2 separate regions of the Homo sapiens genome follow, and region 2 is linked to region 1. Evidence: promoter capture Hi-C in 16 types of primary human blood cells and fetal thymus (Javierre and others, 2016). All regions are on one chromosome and are shown on one strand. Each heading gives the region's core, a stretch centred on a gene start or on the middle of the fragment in contact. The rest is flanking DNA. Distances are from core to core; before and after follow the strand shown.

Region 1 (5,343 bases), core at 199-2,698:
GGGAACTAGGAGTAAGGAAAATGCAATTGTACCTTTTATCATCATTAAACACAAACAGAAACCATAGAGAAAGTAGTAAGTTTATCACCAGTCAGAGGGACCTGCGTCTGAATTCCCAGCTGTACCACTTCTTAATTGCGTGACATTTCGGTCAAATTATTTAACCTGGTTGAGCCTTTTTCTTCATCTGTAAAATGAGGGGAAATCAATAAGACTCCAGAAGGCCCTTGTACAGGTTCAGTAAGGTATTAATAACACATAGAAAGCACTTAGCAGTCCCTGGCACAATGAAAATAATATCCATTAATAATAACGATATTGATAAGAATTATATACTATTCTCTGAAAAAGATTTAAAAGGAAGAAGAGAAACTATCTTTTACCACTAGAGGCCCCCCACCGTGTGGTGCGTAGAGACCCATAACAAATTTCAAGGTAAGGAACTTCATCTTCATTTTAAACTGGCACTCGACTATTACTTTTTTAAAAAGTAATTAACCCCTTACGTGTTCCCAAAGGTGCCTTCATAATGAAATTCCTGTTACTATTATTACCAGTGTTACTGTCGCTACTGTTAGAGTACTCTCAAAAGAGCCTGTCTCCCTCTCCTGGAGTAGAACTTAAAATGGGGCGGAGGCAGGGAGTTACCAAAACCACTGCAGTGTATGCTGATTTCAATAACCTGTACTGCTAACGATCCAATCTCATTTCCCAAGCCTCTACTATCCTCATTAATTTTTCTGCCGATGTACCATCTGTTTTCCAATTTCCCTCTGCCTTACACGTGCAGAACTTGTGGTAGAGAGAAGCCCTAGTTTGGCCGTTCTGCAAGGGATAGCCCAGGAGGTAGGGGGAACCTTAAGTTGAAGTCACCTGAAGCATGTTTGGGGTCAGGGAACTCGGAAAGCAAGAGTGTGGCCACAGATCTGCCCAGAGGCGCGACCCCCAGCTGAGGAGACCAGATGGCGGGAAAAAGCGGGGGTCCACCGACTCCGCGGCTATCTGTAATCCTACCCTTGGCCAGGCCGGGGAGCCAAGAAAGACTTCCAACACTCCCCAAGTTTCAGCTCAAGTCGTCTCCGAGGCTGCGTGTGCCCCAGCCTCGCACGCCTCCCTGCAACGTGGCCGCATCTGGGGCGCCCTCATACCCTCAGGGTTTCCCAAACTCTTCCATTCTCTTCCCAGGCCCAGCCATGTCCCAGGTCTCCGGGTCCCCGGGTTCTCCTCTCCGCGTGCCGGGAGAGTCTCCAGCTTCTCAGACTCCAGCAACCCCAGCCAAACCTCTTCGCTGCCTGGAGCCTTGGCTCCCGCGACACCGCCCGGCTGCGGGGCGGGGGCAGGGCCAACGGCGGAACCGCCCCCAACCGCCTCCCAGGCCAGGCGAGCAGGCGGGTGGCTGGGGCGCCTCCACCTCCTCTTCCTAAAGCGGCGAGGCGCAGAGGAGCGGCATCACTCGAGCCCAGGTCCCAGCCACCACCACTCACAGCGCTCGGCGTTCAGGAAGAGGAGCAGCAGCGGAGGCGGCTGCTTCAGCGGCGGGCGGGCGCCAGAAAGGTAGACTGAGTCCCAGGGAGCTGCGCCGCTAACAGCCCACCTCCTAGCCCCGGGCTACGCGCCGCCAGCCCAGTAACCCCACTTTTGTGTGTCCTCCCAGGCCCCGATCGAAAAGCCTGGGAGGGCCGCCGAACTACCCCCGGAGGGAGGAGCCAGTCCGAACCCAAGGCGCCACCGCCGCAGAAGCGGAGCGAGGCAGCATTCGCCTCCATGGCCCACTCGCCGGTGGCTGTCCAAGTGCCTGGGATGCAGGTGAGGAAGCGCAGGCCGCCCCCGCCGCCCACGTGACTGCTTGGGAGCCCGGTGCGCCCTCGGTGCTGGGCACCGGCGACAAGGGACGGCCCCAGGGCTCCCCTGAGGGCAGGGCCGGTCACTATGGCCAGGTGACCTGGGAGTAGGGCTGGAGGTGTTTCCTGGTGTGTAGGCTAGGTAGTGCTCTTCGCTGGGAAGGCGAGGCGGGACTGGAGCGCGCAACTAGGTGGAGATTGAGGGCGGTTGGGGGTATAAAAATAGGCCAGAGCCACAGACACCTGCGCCTGCTGAGCTTGGCACGGTTGGGGATGGGGGGGCGGAACTTAACCTGGGAGAGATGGAAGTGCCTTGGAATTTGTGGGGTATAACGCGAGTAGTGAGTGCCCTACACCCCCCACCCCAAACACACACTCAAGTTGGGGCGGGGCAACACCAGGGGTGGCGGCGGCGGCGGCTTGAATTGGGCTCTTCCTGTGTGCGTAGGGCTAAGAGAGAGGTGACCTCTTTCTCCCTTTCGGTACTGCTGCTTAAGGGCAAAGTTGTAGCTTGCTCCCCGACCTAGCCCAGCCCATAGTGTGGCGTGAGAAATGCTGGTTCTGTTCAGAGTCACTGAGGTGATGACTTCTCAGCCCCCTCCGTGCCTTTCCCACAAGATGACTGTTACATGTGGTTAAAGGAAGCTTTTTGTCTTGGACAAGGGACTACTGCATGGGACCCAACTTGTTACTCGAAGTCTACCCAGCCCAACCCCCTCCCATTATATTTTCATTTTATTAAAGATAAGCTATGTCAGAAAACTTTTTATGCTGTTATGTTTTTAAATCGGTGCATTTTAGGCTATCTGCTAAGTGTTATCCAAATTTACTAACTTTTTAAAGCATTCATGTTCTATTTTTTTTTCCTTTGCTAGATGGCCTAAACAACCCATTTAGGGGCTAAAACCACTGAAGCCTCAGTCTTTCATGATCTAAAATGTGAAAACAAACTTTTTTGAAGTTCAAAAATAAAATGTTTATAGTAAATAGCTTATATTTCTAGTAGAAATCAAAGAGCTGTAGACTGGGGCCTCAATTTACTTATTGATACATGGAGTTTTTTTTTTTTTTTCAGTGTTCTCATTTTATGAATGTCCACAAAAGTGATTTTTAAATTCTTTCCCAAAATGGGATTTATTTGTGCACCTAGAACTCTTGGTGTGTCCTAAACACCAGACATTTCAGCTGCATTTAGGGCAAGTCTGGGTTGAGTCTCAGGAAGTTAGTGTATATTAAATAAAGAGAGAGAGAGAAAGGGAAATAGGAAATAGTAGGGCTTAAAAAAAAAGATTAATCCACTCAAGCCTTGCAAAATGCCTTAAACTTTCTTCCTCTCAGGCGGCCTCCCCTCTCCTTCCCTCCTTCTTTTCCCCACGCACCCTGCCCCACACCCCATTCATTCAGTTCTGCCTTTGATTGTATCAAGGGAATTCATAGTTCACAATACTAAGTACAGTTTTGCTGTTTGATCTGGGAAAAAGTGACATTTTCTCACCGTGCTCTTCTTTCCATTCTGTGGAGAGTAAAACGATGCACATGTGAAGTTTGTCTCTGAGGGTCTCCATGCTTCTCGCTCCATTGTGTGCGCGAGCCTGCGTGTGTGCGTCAGCAGAGTGAGTGCCTCCAGTTCATCAAGTTTGTGATTCTGGGGAACTCTGTGTGCTGAGGGGAAAATGGTTTCTGATTTTTATTTTATTTGTCTTGAACTTATTGAATTTATATGGTTTAGGAACTGCTTGCTGTTCAGTATTTCTGATTGCTCCCTGCTTTTAATTATCTGAGTTGCCTATCTCTTGAATTTTTAAATCTTAATTAATGTGGATTCGAATGTGAATCATATACTTTAAATTACAAATTCTGCCTTTCACTCTGTGCCCTCTGAGTTGTGATTACTTTGTCCCACCTAATTTGAGTAGGGCAAACATCTCAACGTTAGCAAAGAAGAGAGGAATCTTTTTTTTTTTTTTTTTTGGTCATTCTCTTCATCTTAATGAAATGGTAAATTCTTAACTTCTTATTTCCATTTTATTTCTAATGTAGTTCTTAAGCACTTTGTGCAGCACACAGTTTTTTCCATAGTTGAAAATGTACAATACCTTAATAATAAATTTGATAGCATGCAGTGTGACTCTTGAAGCTAGACTATTTTTATTATTGTTATGTAGCAAAATATTGCAGATGAGATGCAGAAATCTATCGTGAGCTTGTAAAATTCTCCTAGAGTTTTATGAAGGCGTTAGGAGCAACTTTTAGACCTTTAGAAAACTTCAGTTAGCCATGTGTTCTTGAAATTACTGTATAGTGTTTCCACAAATCAGGGTGAGGTAGCCGACCAGCCTATAACTTTTTAACAGTTTATTTTAGAGAATTATGAAGATTGATGGGAAAAATGATTTTTCCAGAAATACAAAGAAAATTACTTTATCCACAATTATTTTCTCCCTCTGAGGAGAGACGTGAAGTAGAAGCCCAGCTACCTGTTCTATCACTTAAGATTTCCAGCATTCCTGACTTTCAAACAAAGAAATTGCTGTTGCCACTAGTTTAAAATAGAAAAGAAACTTGGAGTGAAGAAAGAAAACCCAGGATTTCGTCCAGTTCAAACTCTTCCTTATGAATTAGTTATTCAAACTCATATTGTTGATATTTCTTAATATTGTGGTAACGAACATTTTTTGCCACGTTACACCAAATGTTGAGGGTATGAAGTTTTTTGTACTTAATTTGTGCTTACTTCTTTAGTGTGTAACTAGAGGAATTTTCCATACCAGTAGCTGAACTCTTGAAAATATTTAAAGTACAACTTAAAAAAAAACCAATAAACCTGTTTCTTTCCACTCAAATATTTACTCTTTAATGATTCAAACCCTGTTTTCTTTGAAGTTTTCAGTTATAAATCATACTTAAGTTTAAGATATTTCCCCTTAGAGCCTACAATAGTATTTTTGAGGACAAGTTTCATTTAGAATATTGTTGATTGTTAAATCTTTCGTAAGATGTAGGTGGAAGAATAAAGTTAAATGTTGAGTTAGAGTACTAAATGTTATGCTTTATGCTGTGCCTCTTGTTAAAGAACTTTTAAAGCTTCTGCTAAAGAACTTTAAAATTAGCCTTCATGTATCTTTAAATATGACCAAGGTGGTACAGTTTAAATCTAGTTGTCATTTGAGATGAGAAGTAGAAATGAAGTTTAACGATTAATGATCACTTTATTGAAGACTTTTATCTAAGTGGTGGGAAACACTGCCCGACATTGGTGAACATAATCACTGGGTTCTGGGAAGCATACTGACGTATATTACATGTTCCACCCTTAAAGATCTTAAAATCTTGTTGAGTTGTTAAAACTAGCACATGAAATATCAAATAATGCAAAATCTGTGAACTCACTGTAAGTATAATAGAAGTTTCTCACTGGAAGTGTTGAAGGCTTCCAGAAAGTAAGCTGACCCTAAAGTCTTGTTAGGATGCACACTGGGCAGGGCATTTCCAAGCAAGGAAA
Region 2 (5,160 bases), core at 809-3,308, 1.9 Mb before region 1:
AGCAGTGATTGCTCCCGTGCACTCCAGCCTGGATGACAGAGCGAGACCCTATTTCAAAAAAGAAAAAGAAAGAAATTACAAAGATACTCTTTTTTTTTTTTTTTTTTTCTTGAGACGGAGTCTCCCTTTGTCACCCAGGCTGGAGTGCAGTGGCAGTATCTCGGCTCACTGCAACTTCTGCCTCCCAGGTTCAAGCAATTCTCCTGCCTCAGCCTCCCGAGTAGCTGGGATTACAGGCAGATGCCACCGCGCCCTGCTAATTTTTCTATTTTTAGTAGAGACGGGGTTCCACAATGTTGTCCAGGCTGGTCTTGAACTCCTGATCTCAGGTGATCGCCCGCCTCGGCCTCCCAAAGTGCTTGGATTACAGGCATGAGCCACCTCGCCCGGCCTACAAAGACACCCTTCTGTGAAGTTTAACCCAGGAAGTAGTTTTGTTTTTTGGTTTTCTTTAAGAGACAGTCTCATTACGTTGCCCAGGCTGGTCTTGAACTCCTGGGCTCAAGCAATCCTGCTGCCTCAGCCTCTCAAAGTGTTGGGATTACACGTGTGAGCCACTGTGCCAGGCCTAGGAAGTAGTCATTATGTGGTGAAGATGATCCAGGGCTCCCTTACCCATTAAGCAGAGTAGATCAGTGTTCAGAAGTGCAGGCAATGGGTGACATTTTATCTAGAGCTCCTTTGGATAAATATTGAAAATATGGTCAGGCTCTGTGGCTCATGCCTGTAATCCCAGCACTTTGGGAGGCCGAGGAGGGTGGATCACTTTAGGCCAGGGGATAAATATTGAAAGTATCAATTCCAGGCCGGGCACGGTGGCTCATGCCTGTAATCTCAGCACTTTGGGAGGCCAAGGCGGGCGGATCACGAGGTCCGGAGATCGAGACCAGCCTGGCTAACACAGTGAAACCCCGTCTCTACTAAAAATACAAAAAAATTAGCCAGGCGTGGTGGCGGGCGCCTGTAGTCCCAGCTACTTGGGAGGCTGAGGCAGGAGAATGGCGTGAACCTGGGAGGCGGAGCTTGCAGTGAGCCGAGATTGTGTCACTGCACTCCAGCCCGGGTGACAGAGCGAGACTCCATCTCAAAAAAAAAAAAAAAAAGTATCAATTCCAAAGTAAGGTAAAAATTATTTATATTTACTTAACATTTTAACAGCCTTGCATTGATTTTTATTGATATTTGTAAAAACCAATAATCATGGATTGATTAAATACAAAGTTAATTATATCTGATGGCAAAAGAGACTGGAAAACACTGTCAAAATCATGATAATCAGGTACCTATGAAAACAACTGCATGTATTTGAAAGTAATTTAATAATGCACAATTAACACAAAGGGCATTGTACAGTACATTTAATTTTTTTACAATAGGTACAATAAGGTAGTTTTCCTGTCCTTTTAATTAAAAATTATATTTTTATCTTTTTTCAAAAGCAATATATACTCATTGAATTAATTCCAAAAAATATAAGTGGAAATCCCCCAAAGTCTCACCCCACAGAAGTAACAGACACCTTTTATTAGGGCAAGAAGCCCATTTTGAGATATCATATTTTCAGAAATCAAAGTTTCTTCCTTACAAAAGTAGACTCAGTGACAAGTTTTTGCTAGAAGCTTACATTGAAATAATCTTATTATGTACATATGTTTTTTTAATATCTCTCAGGAAGTTAGCATTAATTCTAGCTGTGAATTGGCAAAGGGCAAAGCCCCTTTCTACTTTGTGTACAGGATGTACCTAATTAATAGTTACCCCTCTCCACCTTAAAGCTATTCTGTAGATAAAGATCATCAGGGGCATTAACTTCCAATACAGAGGGGAACGATCCAGCAAACTAGGCATCAGACTAATCAAAACCAAAAATACTGTACAATGATGATTGATACATAATACAATGAAAATTGGTATTCATAAGGATGATTTTGGATTAGCCAACTAAGAGGAAATCCTTATCTGGGTAGTTTTAATGCTGAGTAGTATAATGTAGGGTTTTAGAAATGGGCGACCCACATATATGATAAAAGGGTTAGCTGTAAATATATCTGCTAGCTCAGCTAATAAACTTATTAACTGGAAGATGCCATTCTGAGTAACTTGGACGTCCTTGAGTAGTCACATTCCAATTTGCTTTCAGGTATATCACTGATGCACTGAATTGTTTTTCTCTCAGCAGAAATGGATTTGGTCATGTTTGTCTCTTCCTGCAGCTCAACCTCCCAAATAAGATGGCAGCTCAACTGTGCTGTTTGAATCCCTGACCTTGATGGCATTAGCAATAACTCACGAGTCAGTGCTAGTGACATGTGTCAGTGTTACCTTAGCTTATGAAATATGTAGGGGGAGAGGTAAAGTCTTAAAAGAAACAAATGGGTGCACTTTATCGTATGTAAATTGTACCCCCAGTAAAGTCGATTTCAAACAAATTCTGAACCCGCGAATGACTTTAGGGAGAAGGAATACTGGTCTTGACCAAGATGTGTGTGATGATTAGTAAGCTTTGGGCAGCAGCCCCCTAATACTGTAAGGAGGTTGTGTTCATTTATCATCTTCCAAGCATAATCTAGGCTTCTGGCAAATTAGACCCAACCACTTTGTTCTACATTCAGCTGCAGGGGGAGGTGAACCCTCCTAGGGATTCCCAACTCCCTCTGAAACTCCAGCGTTCTGGAGGGACTTATGGTTATATGGAGGGCTTGGGAATGGAAGGCACTGTGGAGCTTATGCCATTGTCCCAAGATCCTCCACCTGGGCCAGTAATGGCTAGCCCCGTAAACAAAGTCCCCTTTTGCTGGAACTGCCACCACTAGCTTCCCCCCCTTCTCCTAGCCTCTGTGTGGCCCTCTCCCGCGGCGGGCCTTCCCCATTGGCCAGCCAAACACAACCGACTGCGGCAGCCAATAGGAGCCGCTCTCCTGAACATTCAGAGGATGGGTGCGCGTGGTGTGATAAGGGGATGTTGGCGCCTGGTACGCGCCCCCCTACATCTGGCAAGTCTGTAACAGAAACAGTTACACCCCCTACACACGCACACGCGTGCCCGCTGGCTCCCTCCTCTCAGCTGTACAGGCCCCGGACAACCCACTGCGTGTCTTGGCAGCGGCCTCCCAGGCTGCCTGGGGCCCGCGAGTGCACCTGCTCACTCATTAAGACAGAGCATCCCTTTATCCCAAGGCGCGGGTCGGGTAGAGGGTGGGGGTAGAGGGGACGGGGTAGCGGGGACCGGGAAGGCGCGGCTCAGCTGCCCGCTGCTCCCGAGGTGAAAGAGGTGCCTCCGCCCCCACCCCATCCCCGCAGAGTTGCGTTGCTCCAGGGAGGCCGAAGTGATCCAGTGATGTCTTAAGGTGCAGCTCTTTGTCCTCCCCAGCTGTGCTCCCTGCCCGCTGACCCCGTGCGCTCGAGCCAGTGGGGGTGGGGAGCCCGAAACCTATAACATAAACGGGGGCAAGGAGAAAGAAGTCTATCCCGGGGTGGCGTGTGCCGCTGTCCCCACCCCGTCTCTTTCCTCCTGAGGCTTCTTCCCTCGGGTCCGTCCCGGGAATGCAGGCAGGGGAGGGTGTGGGCCGAGGCGCGGCGGCGGCTGGAGCAGCGCGGTAGGGTCCTTCGCCAGAGCATCCGGTCCGAGGGCGCACACAGGCAGAAGGCTCGCGGCTCGTCCACTCTCCTCCCTCTCTCCTCCTCTCCCTGGCTTTTGTGTTGGTGCCTCCGAGCTGCAAGGAGGGTGCGCTGGAGGAGGAGGAGGGGGGCCCGGAGTGAGAGGCACCCCCTTCACGCGCGCGCGCGCACACGGTGCCGGCGCACGCACACACGGGCGGACACACACACACGCGCGCACACACACACGCACAGAGCTCGCTCGCCTCGAGCGCACGAACGTGGACGTTCTCTTTGTGTGGAGCCCTCAAGGGGGGTTGGGGCCCCGGTTCGGTCCGGGGGAGATGGCGCAGCCCATCCTGGGCCATGGGAGCCTGCAGCCCGCCTCGGCCGCTGGCCTGGCGTCCCTGGAGCTCGACTCGTCGCTGGACCAGTACGTGCAGATTCGCATCTTCAAAATAATCGTGATTGGGGACTCCAACGTGGGCAAGACCTGCCTGACCTTCCGCTTCTGCGGGGGTACCTTCCCAGACAAGACTGAAGCCACCATCGGCGTGGACTTCAGGGAGAAGACCGTGGAAATCGAGGGCGAGAAGATCAAGGTGATCCAGGGGGTCAGGTCCAGGAAGGGTGGGACCCGGGAGGGGACCTCGCCCGAGGCATAGCTCTAGCGGTTGTCGTCGTCCAGCGTCCAGCGCGTGGCGGTTTCGCCTCTTGCTGAGCCGAGGACCCTCGGCTCCTCCTCACCCCTTTTCACCTCTCTCAGCGGGGCCCCGTCCCCACTTCACTCAGTTTTTTAGGGCGGTTGAGAATGGGGTTGCATTCTTACCCTTAGCCCCTGCCTGACAGGTCCTGCCAGGAAAAGCATGTTGGATTCCCATCCATGACCCCTACCCCGAGCAGCGGCACCTGTGGGCAGAGGGAGGCAGGAGGCATCTGTGGGTCCTAGTCTCTGGGATGGATCCCAAAGCACTTTACACATCCTGATGTCTCTTCTACTGCTTGGGTGCCGATAGGCTGCAAAACCCCACTTTGGCTAAGCCTCAAGGCGTTAGAGGGAAGGAAATGATGGAAATCCATGGAGAATGAAAAAGCTGCTTTATTTTAAATTGCAGTTTATAGTTAAAAAATTAGGGCTGAGTTGAGATGGCGGTGGAGTGGGGTGGTTCTGGCAGAAAGCCATGAGCCCTTTTAAAGAAATTGAGGCAGGGTCCAGCCCTTCGTAATAGACAAAACTTGTTTTTTTGTAACAGCCCCCCTGGAATGATATCTTCTTTACTTGTCTGGGGCATCTAATACATGAACTGCTCCTTATTCATTCTGTTGGTATTGTCTTCAGGTCTTTGTAAAAATGCAGTGACTTAACCGAGGGCCAGGGGAATGTTCAATCCTCCCCCTCCATGAGTTTATGTAATAGGCTAAGTGCAAATATTCTTGTCTGACCATTTGTGCTCACCTTTAATTCAGAAAAGGTAGAAACCTGATATGACAGGAATATGTCAATGTGCAGGGGATGGCGGGAGGGAGGACATAACAAGGGCAACTTCTTGTGTCATGGGGAGC

What was found. The method cuts DNA at HindIII sites, captures the fragments that hold promoters and counts their contacts. A CHiCAGO score of 5 or more calls a contact.
Region 2: a fragment that was not itself captured here is called in contact with the fragment with the promoter of STK26 in region 1 in 1 of 17 cell types (naive CD8 T cells); the score reaches 6.6 in naive CD8 T cells.

Annotation. Positions count from the first base shown.
Region 1 is chrX:132,021,854-132,027,196 of GRCh38, forward strand. It overlaps STK26 (serine/threonine kinase 26), which reads left to right and starts at 1,449. Exons shown (of 12, transcript NM_016542.4): 1 at 1,449-1,554; 2 at 1,655-1,806. The coding sequence starts at 1,765. RefSeq lists enhancers at 997-1,543, 1,031-1,080, 1,531-1,690, 1,544-2,091, 2,061-2,130 and a silencer at 1,241-1,490. The HindIII fragment of the contact is 2,994 bases long and covers 1-2,484 here.
Region 2 is chrX:130,168,122-130,173,281 of GRCh38, forward strand. It overlaps RAB33A (RAB33A, member RAS oncogene family), which reads left to right and starts at 3,841. Exons shown (of 2, transcript NM_004794.3): 1 at 3,841-4,199. The coding sequence starts at 3,942. RefSeq lists enhancers at 2,565-2,614, 3,424-4,378 and silencers at 2,995-3,054, 3,225-3,304. The HindIII fragment of the contact is 882 bases long and covers 1,618-2,499 here.